Linked DNA regions of Homo sapiens: all the other regions are linked to region 1. Evidence: promoter capture Hi-C in 16 types of primary human blood cells and fetal thymus (Javierre and others, 2016). All regions are on one chromosome and are shown on one strand. The core of a region is centred on a gene start or on the middle of the fragment in contact, and the rest is flanking DNA. Distances in the headings are between cores, read along the strand shown. Region 1 holds the start of YTHDC2 (YTH N6-methyladenosine RNA binding protein C2). Region 2 overlaps STARD4-AS1 (STARD4 antisense RNA 1). Region 3 overlaps LOC105379129 (a long non-coding RNA gene). Region 4 overlaps CCDC112 (coiled-coil domain containing 112). Region 5 overlaps PGGT1B (protein geranylgeranyltransferase type I subunit beta). Region 6 overlaps PGGT1B (protein geranylgeranyltransferase type I subunit beta). Region 7 overlaps PGGT1B (protein geranylgeranyltransferase type I subunit beta).

What was found. The method cuts DNA at HindIII sites, captures the fragments that hold promoters and counts their contacts. A CHiCAGO score of 5 or more calls a contact.
Region 2: a fragment that was not itself captured here is called in contact with the fragment with the promoter of YTHDC2 in region 1 in 1 of 17 cell types (naive B cells); the score reaches 6.3 in naive B cells.
Region 3: a fragment that was not itself captured here is called in contact with the fragment with the promoter of YTHDC2 in region 1 in 2 of 17 cell types (naive B cells and total B cells); the score reaches 5.9 in naive B cells.
Region 4: a contact is called between a fragment that was not itself captured here and the fragment with the promoter of YTHDC2 in region 1, in 1 of 17 cell types (total B cells). The highest score is 6.0, in total B cells.
Region 5: a fragment that was not itself captured here is called in contact with the fragment with the promoter of YTHDC2 in region 1 in 2 of 17 cell types (fetal thymus and non-activated CD4 T cells); the score reaches 6.2 in fetal thymus.
Region 6: a fragment that was not itself captured here is called in contact with the fragment with the promoter of YTHDC2 in region 1 in 1 of 17 cell types (activated CD4 T cells); the score reaches 6.6 in activated CD4 T cells.
Region 7: a contact is called between a fragment that was not itself captured here and the fragment with the promoter of YTHDC2 in region 1, in 1 of 17 cell types (naive CD8 T cells). The highest score is 5.8, in naive CD8 T cells.

Annotation. Positions count from the first base shown.
Region 1 is chr5:113,512,421-113,514,962 of GRCh38, forward strand. It overlaps YTHDC2 (YTH N6-methyladenosine RNA binding protein C2), which reads left to right and starts at 1,274. Exons shown (of 30, transcript NM_022828.5): 1 at 1,274-1,662. The coding sequence starts at 1,476. It overlaps LOC124901046 (a long non-coding RNA gene), which reads right to left and starts at 1,238. Exons shown (of 2, transcript XR_007058905.1): 1 at 1,011-1,238; 2 at 1-520. RefSeq lists enhancers at 1,030-1,079, 1,076-1,577 and a silencer at 1,530-1,759. The HindIII fragment of the contact is 3,291 bases long and covers 1-2,542 here.
Region 2 is chr5:111,527,766-111,530,307 of GRCh38, forward strand. All of the region lies in intron 1 of STARD4-AS1 (STARD4 antisense RNA 1), which reads left to right. Among named protein-coding and RNA genes, the nearest start is that of STARD4, 17 kb to the left of the region's middle. RefSeq lists an enhancer at 2,279-2,542. The HindIII fragment of the contact is 5,472 bases long and covers 1-2,542 here.
Region 3 is chr5:115,301,358-115,303,899 of GRCh38, forward strand. All of the region lies in intron 1 of LOC105379129 (a long non-coding RNA gene), which reads left to right. Among named protein-coding and RNA genes, the nearest start is that of CCDC112, 6.0 kb to the left of the region's middle. The HindIII fragment of the contact is 779 bases long and covers 882-1,660 here.
Region 4 is chr5:115,280,755-115,283,296 of GRCh38, forward strand. The region is part of intron 2 of CCDC112 (coiled-coil domain containing 112); the gene reads right to left. Among named protein-coding and RNA genes, the nearest start is that of CCDC112, 15 kb to the right of the region's middle. The HindIII fragment of the contact is 3,968 bases long and covers 1-2,542 here.
Region 5 is chr5:115,255,159-115,257,700 of GRCh38, forward strand. The region is part of intron 1 of PGGT1B (protein geranylgeranyltransferase type I subunit beta); the gene reads right to left. Among named protein-coding and RNA genes, the nearest start is that of PGGT1B, 6.4 kb to the right of the region's middle. The HindIII fragment of the contact is 3,451 bases long and covers 1-2,542 here.
Region 6 is chr5:115,235,997-115,238,538 of GRCh38, forward strand. PGGT1B (protein geranylgeranyltransferase type I subunit beta) reads right to left here. Exons shown (of 9, transcript NM_005023.4): 4 at 1,862-2,013; 5 at 394-526. Among named protein-coding and RNA genes, the nearest start is that of PGGT1B, 26 kb to the right of the region's middle. The HindIII fragment of the contact is 931 bases long and covers 809-1,739 here.
Region 7 is chr5:115,213,021-115,215,562 of GRCh38, forward strand. The region is part of intron 8 of PGGT1B (protein geranylgeranyltransferase type I subunit beta); the gene reads right to left. Among named protein-coding and RNA genes, the nearest start is that of TRIM36, 44 kb to the left of the region's middle. The HindIII fragment of the contact is 407 bases long and covers 1,079-1,485 here.

The DNA of each region.
Region 1 (2,542 bases), core at 24-2,523:
CAAAACAGGCTAAGCCTTAATGCACAAACACCTTTCAAGCCCCTGCTTATCTCGTATTTGCTGATGTCCCAATGGCCAAAGCAAGTTACATAGCCAAAGACAGAGTCCATGTGGGAAGGAAGAATACAAGGGTGTGAACAGAGGAATGTGTGATTCATCAAAGGCCATACCTTTGATGAATTCAACAATTTACCATAATGTTACAAAAAAAAATCTTCCCAAATCTCAGCAGTTTACCACAACTAAGAATTATTTCTTACCCATGTCATATTCCAATGTGGGTTGGTGAGGACACTCTATCACACTCGTTCAGGGAATCGGGAACCTGTTATCTATCTAGTGGTTCCACCGTTGTCTAAGAACTTCCAGAAGACCAGGAAAGACAGAGAAGGGAAGATTCAAGGAAGGTGTTATAGACCAATCCTGGAAGTGGTATACATCAGTTCCAGCAACATTCCAATGGCCGGAACTCAGCCATGTGGCCCCCAGCTAACTGCAGGAGAGTTGGGAAATATAATGCCTAGGAAGAAAAGATACTTCTTGTCACCAAATATTCCGCCCCCTTCTTACCACACACAGAATACACATATACCCTCCCCAGACACCTGGAATTCTATCTAGTCACTGCATCCAGGATCTGTTGTTGATACACAGTCCTCTTTATTAGATCCAGATGTATATCCTCATTGCCAGGTAACTCATGAACTATGTAAATATGTACTACATACCTGCCCCCACTCAGCTACCCTGTGTAGCGTGATAGAGCAAGGGTGGCATACTTGCATTAAAATCTCCCATTCAGAAAAGGGAAGAATGCAAGACACACAACAGTGGCTCATTCTTTAGTATATGTATTTTTTATGATATTTTTCCAAATATTGCATGGGAAATATATACACTAAAAATTATTCGTTTATCTGAAATGCAAATTATTAAGCATTCTGTATTTTTATTTGCTAAATCTGGCAACCCTCCTCCCACTAAAATATAAACTCCATGAAGGTAGGAACCTTGGCTCTCTGGTTCTCCAATGTACATCGAAGGCGTGGCATAATGCCAGGTCCACAGTAGAAGCCCATACATGCTTACTGCAGGAATTAATGAAGGACTAAACGAAGTAGCAAGTGAGTGAATAAGAAGATGAGGAGCGACCCTTGGTGGGCGGCGCGGGAAGAGAACCGCACCATAGCTCCGCAGACAGCCTCCTTTAGGCGCGCAGCGGCGGCCGCGCTGAGGTCACGGGCGCCGGCCCTGGTGACGTCATTACGCCCGCGCTCCTCGCCTGGCCGTGATATCAATGGCGCAGGCTTCACTTCTGCTGTGGCGGTGACTGAGGCCTTTCTGGTGACCTCAGCCCAACACAGGCCGTCTCCGGAGCTTCCCGGTAGTGGCCCCGGATTCCCACGGTCTTTGTCATTGGCTGTCAGCTAGCAGGCCTGGCCGCTCCCGTGCGGAGAGACCATCTCTTCAGGGCAATGTCCAGGCCGAGCAGCGTCTCCCCGCGGCAGCCGGCTCCTGGCGGTGGCGGAGGCGGCGGCCCCTCGCCTTGTGGCCCTGGGGGCGGCGGCCGGGCCAAGGGGCTGAAGGACATTCGCATTGATGAGGAGGTGAAGATCGCAGTCAATATCGCGCTGGAGCGCTTCCGATACGGGGACCAGAGAGGTGAGGTTCCGGACAGGGACCATGCTGGCAGTCAGGATACCCCCCTCACCCCAGCGCCCCCCAAACGGCGGCCCACCGAGTGATGGGGGTGCCTCCGAAGAGGGAGGGAAGACCCGGGCCACCGTCCGGGGCGGGCCTCAGCGGCGGCACCCGGGTCTGGAACGCGGCTGTTGGCCCTGCGGTGGAATGCGAGGTGCTCTGCGGATCAATGGGGTTATGGGCACTTTGCTCCCTAGCTGAAAGTGTTTTTCCCCCGCGTCTTTCAGCAGCCTTGGGCGGTTAAGCCACCGTGTTTCAGATATTGGTTAGCCCTAACCCTTTTTAAGGGGGTGTCACCTAATTGTGGCACGTTTAAGCTACAGATGTAGAAGAGCAGAAAGAAATCAAACATATAAATAAATGCACCAGCAATACGTTTGGACCCTGAAGCATCACGCTACCCACTTAAATTAAACTTGTTTGGCACACGAAGCATCTTCCACACCTCTTGAGGTTAGATAGCCACTTGTCTTGGGTCATATAATGCAGAACCAGCAACTGACCTGCGGTGACCTGTGCAGTCTGTTGAGGGCTCATTCGGACCTGCTGGCTTAGTTAGGGGACCTCTTACTCTGGAATCTTATAGTCCAAAACGGGGAATGTTCTAGACAGAGAGATTCTAAATTCACATTAAAAAAAGAGAAAGCCTCAGCAATATATAACAAATCCCTCTGAAATAGTGAAATACGAATTCTGTACAGTTTTGAAAGCAAAGACAATGGAGTTTCATGTTGAGAATTCATAATATTTGAACATATCTCATCATTGAAGAAAATAAACATTTTGTTAACTAAACAAGTAGGGACCAAGTTAAATATGTTCAGTCATTATACCAACTCAA
Region 2 (2,542 bases), core at 30-2,529, 2.0 Mb before region 1:
ACAGTATATATAAATTCTAGAGAAGGAACTATATACTCTTTGATTCAAAACTTTTGTTTCTGAGACTTTTAAGAAAATAAAAAAGAAAGGGTAAAAAGAACCCAAGTTCATCTTCATCTAAGAATTGTTTTTAGTAGCATAAAAATTAGAAACTGCAAGTCCAAAAATACGTGATTAAATTTCCATTTCCAATCAAGAAGCCTGACAAAAGACATTCAAAGTATATTATCTGACCACAATAGAATTAAATTAGAAATCAGTAAAGTAATCTGGACAAAACTCAAATATTTAGAAAGAAAATTACACACTGCTAAATAACCCATGAGTCAAAAAAGAAATAAACAAAAAATTAAGATTTTTAAAAACTGAATGAAAATAAAAAAGACATATGAAAATCTATTGTTTACGACTAAGGCAGTAATCATAAGGAAATTTTTGCTCTAAATATCTAAATTAAAAAAGAAGAAGTCTCAAGTCAATGACATCAGCTTCCACCTTAAGAAAAAAGAATTTCAAGTTCCTTAAAAGATACAAACTATTCTACTAAGCTCATTCATGAAGAAATAGATAACCTGAAGAGCACTATATCAATGAATGAAATTAAATTTAGAGCTTTAAAACTTTCCACGAAAATTCCATTTTCAGATGTCTTCACTGGTGAATTCTATGAAACATTTAAGGACGAAATAATAGCCTTGCAACCCAAACTCTTCCAGAAAATTGAAGTCTTCCCAACTCATTCCACGAGGCCAGCATTATTACATTAAAGCCAGAAAAAGATATTATAAGAAAACTACAGAACGTTATTCCTCACGAACGGAGAGACAACAATTCTTACCAAATTATAACAAATAAAATAATAAACAATTTATTAAAAGGATAATACATCATGACCAAGTCGGGTTTATCTCAGGGATGCAAGGTTAATTTAACATTTGAAAAACAATCAATGTAATTCACCATGTTGACAGACTGGGGAAAAAAAAAAAAGAGATGACGAAAAAGCATTTGACAAATGCCCAAAATCTAATCCCAATAAAAACAGTCAGCAAAATAGGAATAAAAGGAACAACCCCAACCTGATCAAGGGCATCTACGAAACTGTACTGTTAGCGTCTTATTAATGATGAAAGATGAAATGTTTTCCCCTAATATGAGGAAACAGGCAAGGATGTCTACTCTCTCCCTTCTATTCAACATTGTCCTGGAGGCTTTAGCCAGTCCAGCCAGTCAAGAAAAAGAAATAAGAGATATCCAGATTGGACATAAGAAAATAAAATTTTCTTTATCCACAGATGAAACGATCATCTACCTAGAAAACCCTATGGAATTTATATATATGTATTACATCTAATAAGTGAGTTTAACAAAGTTGGGAGATGCAAGATCAATATAAAAAATCAAGTCTGTTTCTATATACTAGGTACATACATACATACATAATTAAAATTAACATAATACCATTTATACTGGCATAAAAACATGCCATTAAATATGCATATTAGGGATAAATATGAAAAAAATGAACATGGCCTGTATATTGCAAACTAGCAAACATAATGAGAGAAATTAAAGTCTAAGTAAATAGAGATAAATGGCATGTGTTTGGATAAACATGACTAAAATATCAATTCTCCCTATTTGATCTACAGATATAATGAAATCCCAATTAAAATCTCAGCAGGCTCATCTGTAGATGTTGACAGCTAACTCTAAAATTCATGTGGAAATGCAAAGGGCATAGAATAGCCAAAACAACTTTTAAAAAGAAGAACTAAGTTATCTAACTTTTACTTCCTGTCTTCACATCTTGGTATAAAGTTACATTGATCAAAATTATGATATTCAATCAAGATAGACAAATAGGTCAATGAAATAGCCCAGCAATAGACCTATACTTACATAATTAACTGATTTTCAACAAAGACATAAAGGCAATTTAAAAATATGAGATCGTATAAATTATTTTGTATAGGATGCAGGTATTAAATTTTGCTATAAAAATGCACATGTCAACATATCGAGATTTTCCTGATATATTAAGAGAAGAGTATAGGGTCTTAAACAGTAGGTAAATTATTATTCTATTTTTTAACGGGATCTATATTTTTTCAAAAGGATGCATATATACACATACACATATACAATAAAAATAATAGTAAGAGCCTAGAATTTTTATAATTTTAGTTTTGCTTTTAGTGTTTTTGCTTCTATTTTGTTATTTATTTATAATAGACATGTACTATAATAAATGACAAAACCGAAACATTAAAATACTCTATAATTATTATATAAAATACAGTAAATATTGTTTTGGGGGAAAATTTATGTGTGTGGTATGAAGACTGAAAGATATATTCCAAATATTAACAAAGAGAGAGTTACAGATAGTCTTTTAGCTTTGTGTCTTCCTTGGTTTCCAAATATTTCACAGTGGGCACACTTGCTTTGAAAAATTATAAAGGCTATAAATATCATTTTTAAACTCTCAATAGTTCCATATAACCGTTGAGCTAAAGATCTAACTTCTTCATCTGACATG
Region 3 (2,542 bases), core at 21-2,520, 1.8 Mb after region 1:
CACTTAATAGACTGCAGTATAGTGTAAACATAACTTTTATATGCACTTGGAAACCTTAAATTTGTGTGTAATATTTCCTGCAATGTTTCTGAGGGATGTCTGTATGCCTTTATGTTATTATGAGGAAGGTCAGCCTTTTTCATAAGTTTAAGGACAATTGCTTGCTTTTTTTTTTTTTAACTGTCTCTTTACATCTTTTCCCAACTGGTATTTGGTGCCTTTCTTCCCAGTTTTTAAGAACTGTTTGTTAATTAGGAGATTATGATATATTTTGTGGTATAAATTGCAAATATTTCTTTCAGGTTTTAAATTTGTTTTATGACTTTTCCTTTTTTTGCTTTGAGCAAGTTCTTTTTATTTTTATGTAGTCAAATTTGTCAGTCTTTTATTATTTTTTTCAGTGCTTTGGGATTTATAATCATCTCTAGAAAGGCGTTTCTCACTCCAAGTTTATAATGAAGTGAATTCCTGTTTTCTTCTGTGGTTTCACCTTTCACATTTATATATCTGGATTATTTGGATTTCTTTCTGATATTCAGTGTGAAATGTGGACCCAATTTTTACTTTTACCCAAATGACTATCCAGTTATTTCGACATTATTCTTTAAAAGCATATGTTTAGTGGTAATTTTTGGTGCCACTTAACTTTTCGTATATAATTGTCCTATTTCTCCTGAATTTTTCTATTCTCTTCTATCATTGTATCGGTCTACTTATGTATTAATGAATAGATGCTTTTTAAATTATAAGGACTTTATGAAATGTTTTAATAGCTTATTGGACTAGTTTCTCTCATTCTTCTTTTCCAGAGTTTTCTTAGCTTTCCCTGCTTGCTCATTTTCCACAGAAACTTTGAATCAATAGTCTACTTTGGGGAAAAAAGCTTGGCATTTTCATTAGAATCACATTAAATTTATTAACTTGGAAAGAATTAATATGTGTATGAGGTGCCGTTGTCCTATCCACGAACAAAGCATATTTACATTTGTTTACATTTGTTCTAGTCCACTTTTGCATCTTTGAAAATTAAAGATTTTAAGTTTATTCTTGAGTTTAACAATATTTACTGCAACTGTAAGCTGGATTTCCTCTTCCTTTATATCTTCTAGCTTATTTTTCTTTGAATATATAAAGACAATCGCTTTTCTTTATTGCTACTTGGGTCATTTTTCTTAATTTTGATATTATTTTTAGAATGATTATCTTAGGGTTTCCATTTATAGTATATACTCTCTGAAAATAGATATCATGCTATCTCTTTCTATCCAATTCTCAGACTTACATTCTAGACAGGAAGAAGGAAAAGGGCTTTCATAGTTTGGGTTCCCATGAAATTAGATCATGAGACAAGGACTTGGGTACAGGAGATAGGTTGTTTGGGAGGTGATCTCAAGAAGCCAAGTGACAGCGTCGAGAAAGTGAAATAGGAAAGGGAGAAAAGCCAACAGAGGGTGTTTTAGTGGTTAGTGCTGTGGGCAACTGGGCCTCACTCCAGCTGGGGACCTCTGAGGAATCTTATAGGACTGTCCTCAGAGTTTCCCTACTAAGGGGTGGGAAAGCTGAGTTATCTATCTACCAAATCCCAAACCTCACTCGTTGAGCGTTGCTGTGGGGACATTAAACACCAGCTTTTATAGGCTGCCCATACAATGGCTAAACAAGCTTCTAGAGAAAGCTGTTAGGTCAAGAAGCGGAACAGCATGGACACAGGTGGAGGCCATCAGTGTAGATGGGTGAACTCAGAGGCAGGACATCTACAATGTGTTGCTACAAAGGCAAAGAGCAAAAGGAGGATGACAGCAGACCTGCCACATTTAAAAAAGCTTTCCTATGAGTCCTCCCTACCCAATGCCCCCCTTTTAGGTATCATTGACTATAACTGAATCACACAGCCACCCCTAGCTACAAAGCATCCTGAAAATATACTTTATTGGGGTTATTATGAGGATGAGTGGGTTAGTTGCTAGCATTGCCTGCCATACCAACCTGTCTTTTTAATTGTTCTTGTTTCTTGGTTCATAAGGTTCATAAAAATAGGCTTGGGTGCAAGCCTATTTTTCCTCTAAGTCTACATATTATTAAAATACTATTTGAAAATATTTTATAGTCAGTTTTACTGCACATTATTATATTCCCTCCCAATCTTCACTTAATTTTTTGAATTCTTAATCTGTCTTAGTCTTCTGATACTTATGTTTCTATTTTTTCTTCTTGTATCTCCTGTAGTCCTTCTAATGAATGTTGATGCTGCGTTATTTAGGGTATAGAATATATAACTTAGATTTTCATTGTGGATTACACCTGTTATTATTGTAAAGTATACTTCCTGTTTAATTATTTTTGCCCTGAATTCAATCTTATATTTAAAATCACTGTCTGGTGATTCCTTTTTGTTCACATTTATTCTGGTACGCCTTTGCCCAGCCTTGTAGTTTCAACATTTTAGAATCACTTTGTTTAGGCCTGGCTCTCATCTGCACCATATAACTCAGTGTTGTTTCACGACCAATATGTGAGTCAAGTCACAGCCTTCTATTTTTTC
Region 4 (2,542 bases), core at 30-2,529, 1.8 Mb after region 1:
TGTTGCCCAGGCTGGTCTTGAACTCCTGAGCTCAAGTGATCTGCCCACCTCGGCCTCCCAAAGTGCGTGAGCCATCATGCCCAGCCAAAATTAATTTTCTTAATGTGTTTCTTTCTCCCAGGTGGAAATTAATATGAATATTTCTCCACTAATCTTGGATTTAATAAGTGGTGGAGCATCACTGGCCATTTACTTAATTCACACAACCTGAGAGGCAACTATCTATACCGTAGAGTTTCCCAATCTTTTCCACTTTGCCATACATAGAGAATTTTTTTTTTTTTTTTGAGACAGACTCTCGCTCTGTCACCCAGGCTGGAGTGCAGTGGTGCGATTTCAGCTCACTGTAACCTCCGCCTCCCTGGTTCAAGCAATTCCCCTGCCTCAGCCTCCCGAGTAACTGGGACTACAAGCGCCTGCCACCATGACTGGCTAATTTTTGTATTTTTCATAGAGACAGAATTTCGCCATGTTGGCCAGGCTAGTCTCAAACTCCTGACCTCAAGTAATCTTCCCTCCTTGGCCTCCCAAAATGCTGGGATTACAGGCATGAGCCACCGCATCTGACCGCCCATAGAGAAAAATTTAATATTCATAAGACACATGGGGGTAGACAGATGAGACTGCCCCAGAGCCCACCACACTTCTCCAGAGGCTGAGGGGATCATGTCTTAGCATGTGTGTTTAGGTAGCTTCTATTGTTTGTGAGAAGAAATAATGGGTAGATAAAGATATCAAATAGATTTCAGTCCCACCTGGCAACTCTAATGGACTGAGTCCTGTGTTGAGGACTGGGAAGTTCATCTAGGCTCTGGTTGCAGATGGGGAAAATTACTATGATAAAAAGAAACGTCTGCCATGGACACAGGATATGCTACAACTTTATATCACTCAACAGTTTTTAGTTCATCACAAACTCAACTTACTTTCTGTTTTTCCTGGATTAGAAATATTAACCTATAAGGATATTCAAAATATGCTAATTAATGGAGACAAGTCGACAAAAATGAAAACAACCTCCTCAATAGAAGAAATGCAAATTAAAACTATATCACAGTAACACTGCACACCTATCATATTGGCAAAAAAATCACAAATTTAATATATTTTGTTGACAAAACTGTGAGGAAAACATGTCTTCTCATACATTGTTGGTGGAACTGTTGTCTACGGAGGGCAATTTAGCAATATTTATCACATTTGTAAATTCATTTATCTCTGACCCAGTATTTCCTTTTAGGAATTTATCCTGAAGATATACTTACAAACAAATAATGTTGACCTATGTGGGTATGGTAATTAATTGCAGCACTGTTTGTTATTAAAAAAAGATTGAATATAACCTAAATGTCCATAAATATGGGCAGGTTAAATAAATCATATTACATTCATACACTGGAATATGATACAGTGGTACTCTGTTCTACGTACTGACAGGAAAAGATCTCCAAGATAACCTCTTTTTTAAACAAAGTTTTTGTAGGAAAATGTTAGACATATTCAAAAGTACAGAATGGTAAATTGACACCCATCATATGATATGAATTTTATCTCACCCTGATTCAGCAGTTTTACCTCTCATTTCATCTATCCATCTATCTTTGCTTTGCTCAGTTTAAGTATTTTCAAGTAGATCCATTACATCTACCTTTGCTTTGCTTAGCTTAGCTTAAGTATTTTCAAGTAAATCCATCACATTATGCAATTTCACCCCAACAAACTTTTGTGTGTGCCTCTAGAGAGTACTGATATTTGACTTACCTAACTATAATGCCATTATTGTGCCTAGCAAAATCTACAATTCCTTGTTATCTAAGACATACACTTTAAAAAAAAATGCAGAGCAATGTGGACGGTATGCTACCATTTATACAAAAAAGGAAAAATCTGAATATATATTTCTTTATAAACACATAAAATATCTGGGGAAGGATACATAAGAAACCAAAACTAGTGGGTTATCTGAGTGGAAAGGAACTGGGTGGCTTGGATGAAGAGTAAAACTGAGACTTTCCACTGGGTACCCTTTGATTTGTTTTGATTCTTGAACCATGTAAATATATTACCTATTTTAAAAATTTAAAAAAAGATATTATAGATTGTGGTTTTTCGTTTGTGTTTATGTGAATTGTTAGATAGAAACACTCTTACAATGAGTTTTTCTAATATTCTTTCAGTGAGTTTTTCCAATGCCCTAAAACAGATGAAGAAGCCTTCTCAGAACTGTAAAACACACTGGTTGCTGCATCTATGGATATTAACCATTTGGTGGACATTACCCTATCTAGAAAGAAACATAAAACAGAACCTCTAACCTAGAATCTAATTCTATCTAGAGTAATGCATTTTGGATATTTTAAAGAACTGTATTTTTTCAAATTCTGAATACTAAAGATATATGTATTAGCAACTTCAAGCATACAATACGTTATTATTAACTATACTCACCATGCTGTACATTAGGTCTCTAGATCTTTTCTATTTTATAACTTGTACCCTTTGACCAACATCTCCCCATTATCCCCACTCCCACCTCATCACC
Region 5 (2,542 bases), core at 30-2,529, 1.7 Mb after region 1:
TCTTTGCCATGATTTGGAGGGACAAGAGTAACAACGACTTTAGGATCTAATCACAGTCTATAACACTACAGGCCTTTTCTATAGACTCTTGGTTGTAACCATTTTCCCCAGAGGAATGTGCTTCTCCAAACACAATAAACCTTTAGACATGGGAAAAACCTCTACATAATAGCAACAAAGTGTGAAAATCACTGCCCTTGGTGGTAATTATGTCTCATGAGAGAAGGTCCACTTTGTTTGTATGCACTCAAATATTTACTGAACTAATAAAGGACCTGCAATACTACATCTAACCCTCCCGGAGAGCTCTAACAGGGTTTTTTGGTTTTGATATAATACATAAAGTAAATGATTATATTTATAGTCAGGTACAATTAAGCATCTACTAATACAGTTTATTAAAGCGTTATTAAGGAAAAGGGCAAAAAGAAGACAGAGACAAAAGTGGAGGAAAACATGAAGGACTTGAGGTCAGACAATGGATAAAACAAAGATCTTCCTGTCAGTAAAAGCTATGTAGTAAGAGAATTTATGCAAAAGGCTATAAAAACAAGTTGGCATTTTTTTCAAAATTAAGAAATTTAGAAATGATCTAGTCCATCTCTTTGATTTTCTAACTGAAGAATATAAAGCCCAAAAAATTCAAGTAATTTACTTGAAATTTCAACACTAGACAATCAAAACTACTCAAGAAGTCTAAGTCCCAAAGTGGTATTCTCCACAGGGGTGCTTCTCATTAGAATCTGCTTAAAAACTGCTCATTAGAATCTGCTTAAAAACAAACGACCAAAACACCACCAACATAACATAGAGATCAAGGTCCTACTTCACAATCAAATCTATGGGTGTAAGGTGGGGTCTGGGCCCTTTCGGTTTGTTTTTGTATTTAACTTCCCAGGTAATTTTAATGTGCAGGCAGGTTTCAGAAGCACTGTTTGAGAACAGTGGTTCTCTACTGGGAACACTGACCCTAACATAATATATCATAATCAAACATTCTTGGTTGTCACAGTGGAGGAGGGAGTTACTGGCATCAAGTGGGTAAAAGCCACGGCTGCTGCTAAATGTCTACAATGCACAGGACAGGTCCATACAACCAAGAATTATCTGGCCTAAAATGTTAATAGTGCTGAGGTTGAGAAAACCTGCTTTAAGGTCATACTCTTATCTGTATACGTTATCTGAATGATCTGTTTGTCATGTTACTTGCTCCTGGATATGAATGCACTCTACATGTAAGTGCCAAATACAAGAAATCAGCCATGTGATGGTATTTTAAAATCTTGCATACTTAATTATTAAGGGCTCCTGAAAGTCCAGCATTTTCAACTCATAGGTGAAGACTTAGGGTGAGACCATAAGGTTTATGAGAGTAACAGAGTTATGGTGAATGGCTTATGTTTATAAAAAGAGGTCCCATCAGAAATGCTTGGCAGACAGAACCAATAAGTCACTTTGGGGCAAATATCTGGCCTCCTTTAAAATAGTCTGGGAAACCATTCCTCTTCCAATCACATCAGAATTCTCAAGTAGTCCTAAAACTGAAAGAGAGAGAATTAAAACAAGCCACAAAAAACACAAAGGAATTTTGGGCTGTGGGCCTCCCAGAGAAATAGTATAATGTAGGGTTTTATGGTTCCTAGATGACTTCTACTTGGGAATAAACTGCTGGGCAACCTGACTCAGCACAGGTGTATAGAGGGGTAATTGTGCGAACACACGCACCTAAAATCAAGCCAATGAAGTTATTTTTACTTTTTTACTTCTTTCAGAGAATATCTGTTTATTCTGTTTCTTCTTTTCCCTAGAACTCAATCTGAATCTGCAGCCTGAGAAGTGTAAATAAGCAAACAATATCTTTCTGTTCACCCCTCTTCTCTCACTCTGAACAATATGTATAAGAAGTTTATCTTACAAGGATGAAAAAGTAACATCCCCCAACCCCCAATCAAGTTGCTTTACCAAAGAATCAATTCACAGACAAGAGGGTTAACCTAAGTGTCTCCAAAAGATGTCAAATATTCCAGGCTTAAGACACGCATACCCCAAAGATTAAATAAGAACAACAAGAAGGATGGGCGCAGTGGCTCACTCCTGCAATCCCAGCACTTTGGGAGGTCAAAGCGGGTGGATCAACTGAGGTCAGGAACTCGAGACCAGCCTGGCCAACATGATGAAACTCCATCTCTACTAAAAATACAAAAAGTCAGCTAGGCGTGGTGGTGGGCACCTGTAATCCCAGCTACTAGGGAGGCTGAGGCAGGAGACTCACTTGAACCCAGTAGGTGGAGGTTACAGTGAGCTGAGGTTGCAGTGAGCCGAGATCGTGCCATTGCACTCCAGCCTGGGCAACAATAGCAAAACTCCATCTCAAAAAAAAAAAAAAAAAAAAAGAATGAAAAACAGTCTATAGTCTGGACAGTGGAAAAAAGAACTTAGTCATACTGATATAAGAAATATACTGAAAACACTAATTTATGAGAGTTGACTAGATTCCCAAACTTTGGATCCCTTGTCCTGACCCTTTCTGGTGCAACCCCAT
Region 6 (2,542 bases), core at 24-2,523, 1.7 Mb after region 1:
ACTAATGCCAATAAAAAGATGAGAGAAATAGTCTCACCAAAGATAACATAATCTTCCAGTTTGCGTGTCAGGACTCTCTACTAACTCCTGCTAGAATAGGCTGTCAATATTCGACTTTCAGATTTTACTTATTTTTCTTTTAAGTCAACCAATCCCTTTCTTATAAAGATACTGCTTCTTTAAATAAAATCATATTAAATTTTAATGGCCAAGGAGTCAATCTGCACTTTAAGATTATTTCTTTATTGTGTTCTGATACACAATTTACCAAAAAGCAATCTTAATGCTCTTATTTACAAATTGTTGGCGGAAGAGATGAGACATACACTATAATACAGCCCTCATGTACCAGCAAAAACAACCTAAATAGTCAATTTTATCAACAGAACTCACCATACTCCTTCTAATATAGGTGATGGCTTTTTTCATATCCATGCCTGACCAGTTGTTGAGCATATAGCAAATACAGGAAGCACAGTACACAAATCGCATGTCATTTTCACTGCCTTCAGGTACTGCACAAAAACTGAAAATAATAACAACAATATGATTTTCTATTAACACTGGACTCTGATTTTTTTGCATGGGGGTTAGAAACACCTCCTGCTTGTCTTTACTAACAGAAAAATCTGTTGATTATTCTACTTTTATTATTCAATATTCTACTTTTATTATTCAATAAAGAATAAGACTACTAACTTGAATAATATAAAACTTTCTCTAAATCATCATTCTACTACAAACTTTTGACTTCTTGGTATTTTTACACACTACCATGTTACTCCCTCCTGGATGCTTACTCAGCATAAGCTTATTTGATCCTAGCCAGGGACAGCTGCAGTATACTGGCTTGAGAATGGCAGAAAAAGTAAAAGGTAAAACCTGAGACCTACTGGGTATACGAAATTTCCAAGCCCAAGTTTTTCTATGTGAAATTTCTTCTAAATGTATACACAGATAACCATTTAATCGATTGATCATATTGTATTTTAATTTTACATATTAGTTGTAGAGAGGCAGCAATCTATGTTGTGTATGTATTTATAAACAAGAATAAGGAAGCAATAATCAAAGACTACACTGAAATATTGAGACATAAGTCATATATGTACTGGATGAAGTAAATATTTAGTTTCATAGGGTTTCCAATTAATGTCAATTTATTCTACTTGTCTACATTTATTTTTCCCTCATCAAGAGCAGTGTTTTGAAAACACTGACGGGAAAACAGAGCTATTAGTAGATGGAGCACAAAGAGTTAACAGCACAGCAGGATTTGTTTGCAGTCTTTTCCTTAATCTTTTCACTACTGCTTTATCGCTTCTCAGACTTAAAATTTTTTTTCTACCTTAAAGCTCCAGGAAGATTCATCTTTAGACACACTATGTGAATCACCAAATATCAATGAACATACGAACTCCTTTTTCTATCCTTTAAAAATGTCATGGAAACTACCTACTCTGGAATACAATATTCAGTGTTCACCCCTTTCTTCCCTAATCACCATAAAGCAAGGAACTGAGGTCCAGACTAAATGTATGCGTACTTCAAAATATCAATTTTTCATCTAGAATGTAAATTAGATTCCAATCCTGAAATTATTCAACCATTTATTTATGTACCCATTGTTATTAAGAAGGAAGATAAAGGTGTTTGGCTATTGTAATTACTATTATTTTCACTCACAGAGGAAATCTGAGGTCACTTTTTTGACTATGCACTTAATTATGTACCTCGTAAGCTTTAGGTGGGGTTCTAATAGAGTATGATCCTCTAAAGATCTAGTATAGTACTGTATCCATTTTTTAGTTCCAATATATTTTTGTTTATTACAAAAAAAGTAACAAAGAATCACTCATACCTCCCATCTTCCAGCTGAAGGGCTCTCAAGCCCGCTAAGCAAGCTTCTTTATTTACTCGGCTTAAGTCGTCTCCAAGAATAACTAAGCATGAGAGGCCAGTGTAGGTCATTGCAATGTGGCCACTATCATAAGGATGAGCTGTTCCAGGAGCCTAAATACAAAATTAATATAGTACTAATTAATGAAGTGAAATGAAAACTTATTTCATTAAGAAATCTGACATAAGGTTTTAGTAAATAGTAAAATTAAATATGGCTTATACTGATTTGTATAGACATCTTATTGAGAAAAACAAATCTCCATTTTATGTATGTCTCAATATGAATATGATTGCACAGGCTACTTAATCTTTAAATTCTTTGATACCTCAGGCATTATGGAAGTAGTTATGATATTCAGGTAAAGCAAATTATGTATTACTTATTTTTTTGGATTTTTTTTTTTTTTTTTTTTTTTTTTTTTTAGTAACAGGGTCTTATCTGTCACCCAGGCTGGACTGTAGTGGTGCAATCATAGCTCACTGCAGTCTCCAACTCCTGGGCTCAAGTGATTCTCCGGCCTCAGCCTCCAGAGTAGCTGGGACTACAACAGGCACAAACCACCATGCCTGGCTAAATTATTTAAACCTCAAACTTAATCACGCTATCACTTATAATTTAAGTCTTATAAAGTCAGAAAAG
Region 7 (2,542 bases), core at 32-2,531, 1.7 Mb after region 1:
TCCCTCGCTCCACGTTTTACCTCTGAAAGTTCCTAAACCATATGCAGTACTATCCTAACATTGTGTTAAATAAAAGGAGCTTATGCAAAAATAATCCATTCTGGAATGCTGTGCCATATTTAATCCTCCTATTTAGGGTAATGTCAGTCATTGTAAAAATATCTGATCTGACAATAAAAACAAACTCACATTCTATTTGGTTGAAATAATATGAGTGCTCATACCATGACAATTCTGCACTGGCTCACTAGTTTCCCATCTTTCAGGGGGCAGCGATCCTCTTCTATTAAAGTGGCCAATGAAATCACATGGCCATTCCTGCCTAGGAGTCTTATGTAGACTTCTGAAGAGCTCAGAGCTTTGCAGTTATAGGAACATTAAAAAGACAGTTTTGTACCAGTCAAAATTTTTTTCTATTTTTGAATTGGCCGACATTTATGGCCTTAAGAGCTATTAAAGTTCAAAACAGGCTGGGTGTGGTGGCTCACACCTGTAATCCCAGCACTTTGGGAGGCCGAGAAGGGCATATTCCTTGAGCCACAGGAGTTCGATACCAGCCTGGGCAATACGGTGAAGCTCCATCTCTACAAAAAATACAAAAATTACCAGGTATGGTGGCGTGCGCCTGTAGTTCCGGCTACTCGGGAGGCTGAGGTGGGAGGCTCACCTGAGCCTAGGGAGGTTGAGGCTGCAGTGAGGCATGATTATATCACTGCACTCTAGCCTGGGCAAAATAATGAAACCCTGTCTCAAAACAACAACAACAAAAAGTTCAACACATCTTACCACATCAAACTTTGTCAAAAGAGTTAAAGAAAAAGCTTTACTTACAACAGTATCACTTATTTTTCAAAACAGAAATGACAAATAGCTGTGCTTACTCAATGCCATTGTGAAAATGTTATTTAACTAATGGAGGCCCATGTTGATCACCTTTTAGGCCTTTTCAGAAAATACTTAGGTTTCTTCTGGCTCACTTTCCTTTGACTTTCAGACTATAAAAAATAAACTTGATTTCACCTGTCATATTACATCCATATAGTTATTCTAAAACTACAAAGGGTACAAAGCAACATTAAGCTTTGTTTTCTAGAAACTAGGAAACTTTTCTAGGAAAAAGTACAACAGAAAATATATATCTATAATAACATAAAATAGAACTGTGTAAAACTAAAATCTCTCTGGGTAAAGTAACAAATAAAACTTATTTGTTTCTCAAAAAGATTTTTGTAACAGCCAATGAGATCAGAACTCAATTGTTTGAAGCCTCAAATTGTGTTTTTAAAAAAACTCCTTATCTGTAAGTGGCAACGTACAAGCACTTTAGATGTGGAACTATATGTTTACTCCATAATAAAGCACTTTAGATGTTGAAATATATATTTACTCCACAATAAAAGGTTATTCTTTTGAAGTTTCTTTCATAAATGTATATAAAATCCCTTTGTATCAAATTTGCCACTAAATTCACTAGAATGAAGAATAAGCTTAATTTTAAAGAATCTTGTTAAAATGATTAAAGATTCTGGGACCAGATCTTTACACATAAATTCAATTTAGCAAAGCCCTTCTATGCTTTCTATTGCATACTCTGAAAACATTGTAATGTATCTGTAAAAAGTAAGTAGTACATCCAAATATTTACACAAATGTTAAAGTTAGCAACTGAACTCTCCGGAAAAAGCCTCAAGAACTTTCTTTTAAAAAAGCTATTGGAAACACTGAATGTATTTCAAGTATGTTTATACAAGAAATGTTTCCTAAGAGACTGTCATTTCCCTACTCCCATTATTTGTTAAAACAGTACCCTGCACTGGTTTAAAAAATGGAATGAAGACCAAAATAATTCTCAGTTTTGAGGCACTAGAGATATCAAAAATTTCAAGATATTATTTTGCTTGAGAAATTAACTTCTGAAGACACACTTTGGCTTACGACTTTGAAAGCAATGTACACTTTCTCTAAGAAGACATGTTTTACTACTGATTGATTGATTGAGACAGAGTCTCGCTCTGTCGCCCAGGCTGGAGTGCAATGGTGAGATCTTGGCTCACTGCAACCTCCACCTCCTGGGTTCAAGCAATTCTCCTGCCTCAGCCTCCTGAGTAGCTGGGACTACAGGTGTGCACCACCATGCCTGGCTATTTTTGTATTTTTGGTAGAGACGGGGTCTCGCCATATTGACCAGGCTGGTCTTCAACTCCTGACTTCAAGTGATTCACCAGCATCAGCCTCCCAAAGCTGGGATTACAGGCGTGAGCCACTGCACCCGGCCATTTATTTTATTTTATTTTTTGAGATGTACTCTTGCTCTGTTGCCCAGGCTGGAGTGCAGTGGTGTGACCTTGGCTCACTGCAACCTCTGCCTCCCAGGTTCAGGCAATTCTTCTGCCCCAGCCTCCCAAGTAGTTGGGATTACAGGCACCCACCACCACGCCTGGCTAATTATTGTATTTTTAGTAGAGGCAATGTTTCACCATGTGGCCAGGCTAGTCTCAAACTCCTTGCCTCAAGTGATCCGCCCACCTCAGCCTCCCAAACT